2 separate regions of the Homo sapiens genome follow, and region 2 is linked to region 1. Evidence: promoter capture Hi-C in human tissues and cell types (Jung and others, 2019). All regions are on one chromosome and are shown on one strand. Each heading gives the region's core, a stretch centred on a gene start or on the middle of the fragment in contact. The rest is flanking DNA. Distances are from core to core; before and after follow the strand shown. Region 1 holds the start of KMT2C (lysine methyltransferase 2C). Region 2 overlaps KMT2C (lysine methyltransferase 2C).

The links. The method cuts DNA at HindIII sites, captures the fragments that hold promoters and counts their contacts. A contact is called where the count stands out against the background at its distance.
Region 2: a contact is called between a fragment that was not itself captured here and the fragment with the promoter of KMT2C in region 1, in 1 of the 25 tissues and cell types used here (aorta).

The regions. Positions count from the first base shown.
Region 1 is chr7:152,434,717-152,440,483 of GRCh38, forward strand. It overlaps KMT2C (lysine methyltransferase 2C), which reads right to left and starts at 1,287. Exons shown (of 59, transcript NM_170606.3): 1 at 910-1,287. The coding sequence starts at 1,070. It also overlaps the pseudogene FABP5P3. RefSeq lists enhancers at 254-303, 344-573 and silencers at 1,054-1,113, 1,494-1,543, 1,634-1,923, 1,964-2,303. The HindIII fragment of the contact is 14,314 bases long and covers 1-5,767 here.
Region 2 is chr7:152,200,216-152,206,635 of GRCh38, forward strand. It overlaps KMT2C (lysine methyltransferase 2C), which reads right to left. Exons shown (of 59, transcript NM_170606.3): 25 at 4,891-5,010; 26 at 2,719-2,849. Among named protein-coding and RNA genes, the nearest start is that of GALNT11, 180 kb to the left of the region's middle. The HindIII fragment of the contact is 3,122 bases long and covers 256-3,377 here.

The DNA of each region.
Region 1 (5,767 bases), core at 37-2,536:
CAAGCAAAGCCGTCAAATAACCGTTCTGTAAGAAGACATTTCTGGTCCTCTAATAAGCTGGGGTCCAGCCCTACTGTACGCTCAAAGGCAGGCGACCCTATTCCCAAGCCCCTTACAGCTAAGACTTACGAGGGAAGCGACATTTACATCTGCACTCTCTCCGAATAAGTGCTCTTGGTATTCTGCCTTACGAGGGGACGCTGGCTACGTCTCCAAAACTTAGGCAGGCCGTTCCCCGAAGCTGGGGGATCCCACAGGACTTGTGCTTTCGGAGCCCGGGAGTGCGGTGCTGGGTGTTGGGGGAGGGGGGAGGAAGAAGTCAAATGGCTTCCTAATATATCATCAAAAGAAGAAAACACAGGTTTGGGACCAGGAAAAGTTCCAGGAGCAAGTCGCTGACAAACAAAAGCTGCACTCGCCCGGCCGCTTTCTTCTCGCCCCCAGCCCGCGCCCCGAGACCACCTGGCCCGGGCGTTTTGACAGCTCCGAGAGTTTCCCGAGCGCCGACGGCTCGGCGGTTCGCCCGGAGTCCGTCCGGGGACTACCTGGGCGCGCTCCGGGCTTGTTTTCTCAATGATCCAGCTAGGCCAAGACGCGGCTACGAGAAATTTCTCCAAAAGAAGAGTCGCGGAGAAGACCCAGTGAAAAGGCCCGACTGAAAAGTAAAGTGTGCGGAGCCGGGCGCCGGCGGGAGCCCGGGCGGGCGGCGCGGAGCGGGGGAGGCCGGGCGCGGGCGGCTACCGAGGGGCGCGGGGCCGGGGCCGGGAGCCGCCACCGCCCGCGGGCCCGCCCCGCCCCCACCCCGCCGGGGGGCGCCGGGGCGCGGAGGCCGCGGGGCGGGCGCCCGGTGACAGCTCCGGCCCGGCGCCGCCGCTGGCTCCCGGCCTGGCTCCCTCGCACTCAACTTACTTCTTTCTGGCTCTCTGGAAAGGGGAAGCGCCATCTTTGCGAGGCCGGCCCCGAGGTCTTTTGTCTGCGGCTGCGGGGCTCGGGGCCGGGGCTCCAGGCTCCTCGGGGGGTGGTGGCGGCGGCTGCGGCTGCTCCACGCTCTTGTCCTCCTCCGACGACATCCTAGTCACCAGGAAAGACACATGGATCCCGGTCCTCCTCCTGGGGGGCTCCCGCCGCCGCGGCCGCCGCCGCCGCCGCTGCTGCTCGGGTTCCTCCTCCCCGGCTCAGCCTCTCGCATTTCCCGCAGCCCCGGGAGCAGCAGCAGGTACCGGGAGAGGCGGCAACATGGAGCGAGCAGGACACGCACTCACACACATCGGCGCGGGCGCGCGCACCTCCGCGCGCAGGGGCCGGGCGGGGGGCGGCGGGCGGGGCGGGCGGTGCGGGGCGGGCGGGGCCGGCGGGTGCGGGCGGGCGGGGCAGCCGGGCGGGCGGGCGGCGTGAGGGGCGCCGGCCCCCGGGGTCTCCGCCCGCGGCCCCTCCCCCGAGCCGCCCGCGGCAGGAGGAGAAAGGGGCCCGGCGCGGGGAGGGCCGGCCGCGGGGCCCGGCGGGGGCGGCGAGGGGGTCGCGCCCCCGGCCGGCCGCCCCTCCCCCGCGCGTCAGGCCCGTCAGGCCCGGGCGGCGGCGGCGGCGAAGTTTTGACAGCTGCTCCAGTGGCGGCGCTGGGCGCCGGGCCGCGGCTCGCTCCTCACACTCGCTCTCTCACACACGCTCGCTCGCTCTCCCGGAGCAGGGGAGGAGGAAGTTTTGCGGGTGTGCTTGGACCCCACACACACGCCGCGCGACCGTGGCCGTCGCGCGAGGCCCGCGCCGGGGATCCCCCGGGGCGACCCGCACCACAGACCTCTCCAACTCGCAGCCGTCGCGCCCACACACCGCCGCCTCGACGGCCCCCGCCCGCTCCCCCACACTCGGCCCCTCGCCCGCCCCCCGCGCGCCGCCGCTGCCACTCACGGGCCTCGCTCCGCGCATGCGCCGCTCCCGCCGCCCGCGGACGCGCCGCCGCCGCTGACCTCACCGCCCCTCCCCCTCCCCCCCGGGTTCCCTCCCCCTGTGACGCGGCGGCCGGGCCCAGCCGCGACTCCGGCTCCGGCTCCGGCTCCGGCTCGGGAGGTAGCCAAGCTGTGGACCCAGAGATCCGGGATCGGGATCGGGGAACTGCGGGCGAGGGCGGGAGGGAGCCGCGGACACACGCCGAGGCGGCCGCGGTCGCCCGGCGCAGCCCGGCGCGAGGAGCAAATGTGCGCCCGCACGGCGAGGGCAGCCCGGGCTTCGCTGGTTCTCGCCGAGGTCTTTCCTCGTAGCGCCCACACTACGGGGAGGAAAAGGAATGGAGTCAACTTCGTTCGAATCCAACGCCAGTTAGTTTCCTTATTATAACGTCATTTTTTTTAATCCAGAAAAGGTTCATAAGGATGTAAGACGAAAAGAACGATGACAGCTCGAGAAATAAAACGGTTAGAGACAAAATAAGCCAATAAAAACCCAACCACTTGATTTTAACGTTCAGTGTGTTGTGATGAAGAGGCAAAAATCGAAGTACTTCTAAGCCACCTCTCATAATATGTAAAAATGGTAAAAAGAAAAATGGGGCTAGAATCCGCCTGAAAAATGCACTTTCTCAAGAAGGACAGTTACAAATATGGGATTCTGGATTTCTCAGGCTAATACCTAACACTTGGACGATGATCTATTCTGTGCTTTCCATTCACTATCGATTAGTTTATGAGAGTGAAAAAATTCTAGATTTGAATGGGGGGAAATAGTAAGACCTATCAACCATTTGTGAAGGATTGGGGTAAACTATCATTTAATAAGCATCTACTTTGGGCCTAGCGTTAAGAGGCACACTCTCATGTTGATTTCTTTTGATCTTCGCAGTGTAGTTTTAGTGTAAGGTAAAAAAAAATAGGCTCCTTTTCCAGCGATGTTTGCTTTCCCTTCTAGTAGCTAGGATGTTAACTTTAAACTGTGTCTTCTACTTGGGCAAAATACACACACTTTGATTCCCAGAGCCTATTCTAAATGAAAGCATAATTTTTTGAAATGGCTGAAATGAGGAATAACGTCAGATAGTCATTTGAATACCTTCAGGGTTTAATCCCTGCTGGCTCTTTCAAATTTACTAAATTTATAACCAAAGGAAATTTGGGATTGAGGAGGAGGCTGGCATGGTAAATGCAAACTAGAAATTAAAAGTGCCTGACGATTACACATAGAAATACAACATATATGTGACTAGTGATAAACATATGATGTGATCTAGTGAAAGTTTACTCAGTACAAATTTGAAAGCACCCTTTCTTTTTTCATTTTCTTCAGCACATTGTACTTTAAATAAAGTGTGCTTTCAAAACTGGATTATTGATCCAAATATTTAGCTGTGTTCCGTACTGAAATTAGAATAGGCACTTCCACGGTGAGTTTCACATGTACAAAATTATACATCAGGATAATTTACTTCCATACGCTTCTCCAGCACTTCTGAGAACTTAAGTGTCAGTGGATACAAATTGCAAGTCACTCCTGCTGGAGAGTTCACAAGAAACAAAGGGTACTAAGAGCAGAAAAGTGAGCCGAGTGAATGGAAGGGTAGAAACAGAGGTTTGTGCAGGGATGCTTCTGGATAGATGATGATGCAGGTAAGTAAACTCAGCCTGAAATCTCCATTCCTTTGGCCACTATGAGCAGGGAGTTGGGATCTGTTTTAAGAGAGCTGATAGCAGTCTCCTTGGCATGAAGTTATCATGAACAGAGCAAATCAAATATAACCCAGGATGCTGAGGAAGGATTCAAGGAATACTTATTCAACATAAATAAAGGTTTTCCAGAGGTTTTTCCGTCTCAGTCATCCAAATTACACAGCTCTGAGACCACAGTAGCAAAAATCTAGGAGGCAGGGAGCTGAGGTCCTTCAAAATTATGAAAGCAAAAAGGCAGGAGCATCTGGAAACAGTACCAAATACAACAGAAAAATATTAGAATGTGTACTTTCTAATAAGTATACATGTTAAATATGGGATTTTAAATTTAGGTAGATGTGTACTAACCTGTTAACCAATCATCTGCAAAGGGGTGAATTACAAGGGACTTTTACTGTCTAAAATATTTGAATATTTCAAAGCACATGTAGTAATCATCTAATCATATATATATATATATATATGTAGTTTTTAATGGGGAGGGAATGAGCATTGTTATCTTTGACAAAGAAAAACCAACATCTCAGAAAAATATAGGCAAGGAAGATTCTCAAAGCATCTAGCAAACAAGTGACAGTGAATAAAAATTCATAGTCCAATATTCATTCTTACTAATTGAAGGCCTATAACATGTGATTGTCTTTATTTAGAATGCACAGGTTCACTACTAAATGTTGTCTCTCTTGTTTTCCCATAAATTCCTCAGGGCTTTTTAGGAACCAAACTTTCACTGTTATAGAAGGACCACTGAAAGCTTAAATTTTAGATCTTAGAATTTTTGTGTTCATATTGTTATTATTAAAGTTGCACTGTAGGCTGGGCACTGTGGCTCATGCCTGTAATCCTAGCACTTTGGAAGGCCAAGGCGGGTGGATCACTTGAGCTCAGGAGTTCGAGACCAGCCTGGGCAACATAGTGAGACCTCCGTCTCTACAAAAAAATACCAAAGAAAATTAACCAGGCCTGGCTGGGCGCGGTGGCTCACACCTGTAATCCCAGCACTTTGGGAGGCCAAGGCAGGCGGATCATGAGGTCAGGAGATCGAGACCATTCTGGCTAACAAGGTGAAACCCTGTCTCTACTAAAAAAGCAAAAAATTAGCCGGGCGTGCTGGCAGGCACCTGTAGTCCCAGCTACTCGGGAGGCTGAGGCAGGAGAATGGCGTGTACCCGGGAGACGGAGCTTGCAGTGAGCTGAGATCGCGCCACTGCACTCCAGCCTGGGTGACGGAGTGAGACTCCGTCTCAAAAAAAAAAAAAAGAAAAAAAAATTAACCAGGCCTGGTGGCACATGCTTGTAGTCCCAGCTACTTGGGAGGCCGAAGTGGGAGACAGTCTTGCTCTGTCACCTAGGCTAGAGTGCAGTGATGCGATCTCGGCTCACAGCAACCTCCACCTCAAATTTGCCGGGCACGGTGGCTCATGCCTGTAGTCCCAGCACTTTGGGAGGCCAAGGCAGGCAGATCACTTGAGGTCAGGAGTTCGAGACCAGCCTGGCCAACATGGTGAATCCCCATCTCTACTAAAAATACAAAAATTAGCCTGGCATGGTGACGTGCGCCTGTAATCCCCGCTATTCTGGAGGCTGAGACAGGAGAATTGTTTGAACCCAGGAGGCGGAGGTTGCAGTGAGCCGAGATCGCGCCATTGCACTCTAGCCTGGGCAACAAGAGCGAAACTCTGCCTCAAAAAAAAAAAAATTCATATTGCTATATAAGTTATTTCAGTAAAGTATATCATGTGCCTGTTTGGTGGAAAAGTTAAAGGAAGAAACCAGGAAGGAAACAAGCAGAACAGTCATCTTCAAAAGTAATTTGTGTTTAAGAATGTGAGGCTTAAGTAGATGTTTTGCAGTACATTTTATATAGATACTAATCTTGCCCTCTAGGGGTCTATACTTTAAGCCTGGCAGTAGTAGTTAACAAGGATAAACACAAAAGGACAAGTAAGCAACTAGAAAATAAACATGGAGGCCGGGCATGGTGGCTCACGCCTGTAATCTCAGCACTTTGGGAGGCCGCGGTGGGAGGATCACGAGGTCAGGAGTTCGAGACCAGCCTGGCCAATATGGTGAAACCCTGTCTCTGTTAAAAATATAAAAACTAGCTAGGCGTG
Region 2 (6,420 bases), core at 567-3,066, 230 kb before region 1:
GCCAAACATGCACAAAAAAGTTCACTGTAGCATATTTTGTAATGTCAAGAAGTAAAAATGGCCTTAATGTCTATCAACAGGCATAGAACTATCCAAATTATAGACACTTATATTACAAAATACAACAATTTTTTAAAAGTATATAGTTCTATGTTATCAAAGAAAAAGCCCTAAAATACATTACTAAAAGAAAGTAAGTTGAATTACACATACAGTAAATTATAAAATACAGGTCGGGCGCAGTAGCTCACGCCTGTAATCCCAGCATTTTGGGAGGCCGAGGTAGGTGGTTCACTTAGGCCCAGGAGTTAGAGACCAGCCTGGGCAACATGGCAAAACTCTTGACTCTACACAAAACACAAAAATTAGCCAGGCATGCGCCAACATGCCTGTAATCCCAGCTACCTGGAAGGCTGAGGCACGAGAATCACTTGAACCCAGAAGGCAGAGGTTGCAGTGAGCTGAGATCACATCACTGCATTCCAGCCTCAGTGACAGAGTGAGGCTGTCTCAAAAAAAAATTAGAAAGTTCAAATCAAGACTATTATAAGTTTGCAAAAATAAATTATAAAAAAGTTTCTGAAGGACAAATGCCAAATTATTAACAATACTACCCTTTGAGAAAAGAGATTGGGAGTGTGTGAAGTCTGGTGGAGGCAATGATATATCTGATTTGAAATGTTCACATTTTAAATGAAAAAGTCATCTCACTATGAAAAATCTAAAAATTCACAAAACTAGAATACCAGGTAGAAGAGGATTCATTTCTTATAATAAGCAATGCTTTTATCATTAGAAAAAATGATGAACAGCAGAAAGCGTTTTAGAAGTTTAGAGGTCATTTATTTAATGCCTTCAGTATAAATCTGAGAAATCTTACACCATCATCAGCAAGAATTCTGTCTAATGACTCATGACTTTACTGGTGTTTATCAAAAACTGTGTCACCCTTATTAATTTAGTGTGTTTTACATTCCCTGTAGATAACATAAAGAGGGGGCTCCATCCATATCGTCTCTAAAAGTCCAAGAAAACTACCATTAAAAAGGCCTCCCTCATGTCACACATACAGACACAGACACACACACACACACACACACACACACACACACACACGCTGAAAGTTACTGATGTGCAACAGGGGAACAAGACGGCCCAGGAGACTAAGATCACAGCAGTAATTGGGAAATTAGACCTAATAATTTTAAAGACTCTTTTGCCAAAGTATTAAATGGCTAGTTTTCATACTTGCAGAAACACCTAAAGAAAGCTTCTTAAATTTATATTACACTTTACAGAAGGATCAATAGGAGGAAAAGTAGGTTGCCATCACAATATTCCTAGAAAGGACTATTAAGAAGGGAGGTAAAGGGAATCCCAGGAGAAAACAACAACAAAGATGAAAAAAAAAAAAAAAAAAAAAAAAAAGGTAAGCCAACCTATAAATGGATTTTTTTTCCTGACCAATTAAATGATCGTTTAAAAAAAAACAAAGGTGCAAACCTAGGATATAAGAGATTGAGGGGAAAAACATGTATGAAGGATATACAAAAAGTAAGGCACAGGCTAGGCACTTTACATACATACTCTCACTGAACTTCTGAGCATTTCTGAGAGGCACCACTATGTCACAAATGAGGAAACCGAGACACAAGAGATGTTAAACAGAACAAAATCACACAGCTAACTGGTAGTGGAATGGTGTTTAAATCCTGACTTTATAGGCTGAGCTCTAACATGAATACTGCCATTAAGATGTTAGTAGCTACAAAAAAGAAAATTGAGGAAGTTGTATGCTAGTTGAAAGGCAATGTATTTTAAAACCAATTAAACTAGTAATACCTAACTGGAAAATTGATGTAAAAAATAAATGCAACTCAGGCAATGAAGGGTTATCTGTGTAAGCCATAGTTTCTTAGGAGGAACAGATCAGATGAATAGTTGTCTACAATGAAATGAGGATGGCCTCTCAATGATAGTCTGTTCCAGTTCAATTTTAACACATGAAGAAATAGAGGCCAGGAAGGATGAATAACACGCTTAGGAATTTACAATTAGTTAGATGCAGAGCCAGATATTTAATCTCAGTACAATTTCTAATATTGAGCTGTTTCCGTATCACATGGCCTTAAACTCTGACTTAATGTTTACAAGATGAACTAGAAAAAAATTTTTTTTGTAGTCTACATCTATCAAACATAATTTATTCGTACTGAAAGGTATTTTTCTGATGTGTATTTTGGAAAACAAAAAGAATACTGCTTAAATCTTTGGTTCTCCAGGCCTCTAAAAGTGGTAACGATTATTAAAGCTATAACTTTGGCTGAAAAGCCTATCTTTAATCAATGAATATAATTAATGTAACTTGTATTGGCAAAGGAAATTTCAACAGAACTTGGGTGTGGGGTATACATAGCTATCAATGACTTGGAAGATTGAGTTTTTCCTATCCCAAAGTGTCCTTGTTACATCTTATAGAATGCTTAGAAGTGAACAACTGGTATTAAAAAAGCAATTTATGACAAGTATCAAAGCACACAAAAAAAGTAAATTTAATTTTTATGGACCCCTGAAAGGTAAAAATGGCATTTATGATGACTAAATGACAACAAAACAAGTAAAACATTAACAAAAACAACAAACCTATGTTTTAAAACTCAATACATTTTATTTCCTCAATTAACAAACCATGTAAAATAATGTAAAGCAAAATATTACTTGTAAATAGGCAGGGAAAGTTTCTTCAAGCTTATTTTTCCTTTTTCGGTATCTCTTCTTTATTTTTTCAGTGCTTTCAGTAACAGAAACAGATTCATCAACTAAAGTATCTGGTAACTGCTCACTCCAGCCTGAAACAACAGTCACATTTATAAATATGTGACATTTAAAATTTCTAGACAAACCCACTGAAGGTAATTTTATACCTTACCAACATACACACAGTTTCATATAAACAAACAAGCTTTTTGAACAAAAAAATCTCAAATCAAGTTTGTTACTTTTAAGTGCCATAAAATTTTGATTTCATGTCTACTTAGTATTAGCATTTTTCCTATTTTCTTAATAATCGATTACAAAGCAAAAACGTATTTATTTAAACATATTTTGTTAAAGAGTAAAATAATAATAATAATAATAATAAATACCCAAAGCTCATGAGTATGACGAAATGGCAACTTATAAACTATTAAGAGAAATTCTGTGGGTGTAACTTTTTTGTAGGGTGTATTGAGAATACTCAACAAAAACCTTAAAGAAAAAGTGTGTCCTTTAATACAGCAATTCCAAGTTCAGAAATTTATTATAAATTATTTGTAGGATATACACATTGTGAAAACATGACGATGAATATGCTAATAAATATGCAATGAACACTTATTCTTGAAATCAGAAATGGAAATAAATTTGGGGACTATGAAACTAGCAAAGAAACAAGAACACAGCTTAAATTTGACAAATAAACAATCAAATGATATTCTCAGATGCTTCATAATGGCAGGGCAAATGGCACATCCCTTCTGAAAATCAATATGGGCACTCTACCACCAGACTACGTAAGTGAATTGACTCTTCTGAAAACTAGAAATAGACAAACATTTTTTACAACAATCTTTTTAAAGGCACCAGTAACCTAGCCAGAACATAAGGAATCCATGAAAAACAAAAATTAAGATAAATAAGGAACCACAGAAGTAAGCAAAAAAGTAAAAGCTCTCCGAAATTTGCTGAAATCCAATGACCTCAAACTCCAATTTTCAGAGCATTGCGAGGAATAGGGAATAGAAGACAAAGCTTAAGGCCTCTCTCCAAGGCAGACAGGCCAGAGGTGACTTGCATAAAGCTCAGGGTCAGTTTAATAAGAAATACACCTTCACACAAACCATCACTTGCCACCTCCTGCTCACCACCAATAGCAAAAAAAAAAAACAACTCCTGGCTGGATGCAGTGGTTCACGCCTGTAATCCCAGCCACTTGGGACGCTGACGCACGAGAATTGCTTGGACTCGGGAGGTGAAGGTTGCAGTGAGCTGAGACGGCACCACAGCACTCCAGCCTGGGTAACAGAGGAAGACTGTCTCAAAAACAAAATTTTTTTTAGATATCAGCTGGGCTCACATTTGTAATCCCAGCACTTTGGGAGGCTGAGGCAGGAGGATCGCTTGAGCACAGGAGTTGCAGGCCAGCCTGGGCAACAAAGTGAGACCCTGTCTTTGCAAAAAGCCAAAAAATTAGCTAGGCATGGTGGTGTGTGCCTGTGGTCTCCAGCTACATCAGAGGTTGAGGACAGGAGAACTACCTGAGCTCAGGAGTGCAAGGCTGCAGTGACCCATGATTGTGCCACTGCATGCCAACCTGGGTGACATAGTGAGACCCCTAGATAGATAGATAGATAGATAGATAGATAGATAGATAGATAGATAGACAGACAGATACATAAATAGATAAAAACTGAGGTGCACTGTCACTTGAGAATTTCAAATTATATGATAAGTAGCTAAGGCAGTCAAAGAAAGGCTTTGGAGATGACCAGAAAGTACCTTATGTAACTAAGTTATTCAGTCCCTAAACCATTTATATTTAAATATAGAAAATATATTTAATAATTTGATACAGGAAAAAAGAGCTTGTCAAAAAATCTCAAAAGAATAAAGTCTATTGGATTTAAACCATTTCCTTATAAAACCTGATTACTGTATTACAGATATGAACTCTATACGCACTCAAATCCTTTCATCAATAAAAGGCAATAAGACTCTTATTGAGTAACAATAAGAGGCAATAAGGCTCTTATTGACTGTAACATTATTTAGGATAGTTTTTTCCAATAGAAATATCAAGACCAAAGGGTTACATTAAAAAAAAAATTTTTTTTTAAGTCAGTACTATACCATCATCTCTGCAAGGTAACTGCTCGGAAATAGAGCCTGAGGAATCTTTTCTGATCACAGATCTTTTGGTTTTCCCTTGCCCAGTTCGACTTCTTTGCCGCACCATAAATCCACCAATACCTATCCAAAAAAGAAATTAGGTAAACTGATAAGTAATTTCTCCCTACATTTCCACAGTACACAGGATAAAACTGCTTTATCTTGAATAGTAAGTCATTTTCCAAAATTAAATCTGTGCTAATCTAAATCAATAACCTGATTTTTAGGTAAAATAGAAGTTAAAAACGACCAAAAAAAAAAAAAAAAAAGGCAAAGCCACTCTTATCACTTATCAAACAGAATACAAAAAGACCTGTGTGCACTTCCTCTTCTCAACAGTATCAGTGTAAATATCAAACACTAAATTACGCTGGCTTATCTATTTGACAAATATTAGTGCCTCATACATCACATAACAGTCATGCACTGCATAATGATGTTGGTCAACAAAGGGCTGCATGTCAAGGCAGTGGTCCCATAAGATTATAATGGAGCTGAAAAATTCCCACCACATACAGACATCACCGTAGTTATAACACCGTAGCACAATTACTTTATTTTTTTAAATGAATTTAGCGTACCATACAGCCTAAATGTGTAGTAAGCTATACCATCTAGGTTTGTGGAAGTGCACTCTATGATGTTCACGCAACGATGAAAATGCCTAATGATGTATTTCTCTGAACTTAAGTGATGGATGACTGTCTGTATATTAACCGGCTAACTGGTACATTAGCTGGAGGATAGAAGGCACAAACTACCTAGATGACACAAATATTCTTTGACTGATATGATTTCAGGGGGACGGTGTCTGGTACTCCAAGGTATGAGGGCATTTATACATGGGACACATAGAGCCCTGTGTTTAACAGCATGGAATCTGGAGTCAGACTATGTAATTCTGCTTACTAAATACTTCTCAATGCCTCAGTTCTTTCACTGGTTAAAAAAGGGGGTGAGGCAAAGCAGCTTCTCATACACATGTTAAAAGGACAAATAACATAAGTGAAGTGCTTAGAATAGAGGTCTGGTACACAGTCAACACTATAAGCTTTTGTGAAATGATATCGTTGTCTAGCAATTTACTCCGTGACCTAATGGGTCCCTCAATTAGAGGGTTGACTTCCATGTGAGGCAGAGGAAAAGAAAAAAAAAACGGTAAATACAAGTTCCTGGAAGAAATCTGCAATGTCTAAAAAAGTACACTTATAAGCCTCATGATCAGGAAGAAATGAAATCATTTTCATAAAACAATTCAGAAGCAACTAATCTTAGGTCCTTATTATAGATATGACCTATTTAAAAGATAGGTTATCTTTTAAGGTCTCATGGAATACGAATGAAGTAAGAAAGTTCTTCCTTCCATATCAAAAGGGATTTAGATCACTCTTACCAATAAAATATAAGCAATAAGAAGCATAAAGATTGTACAAATCCAATTTAAAACCTCATTGGTAAACAAGATATTAATAAACTGCCTAAGGAAAGCCT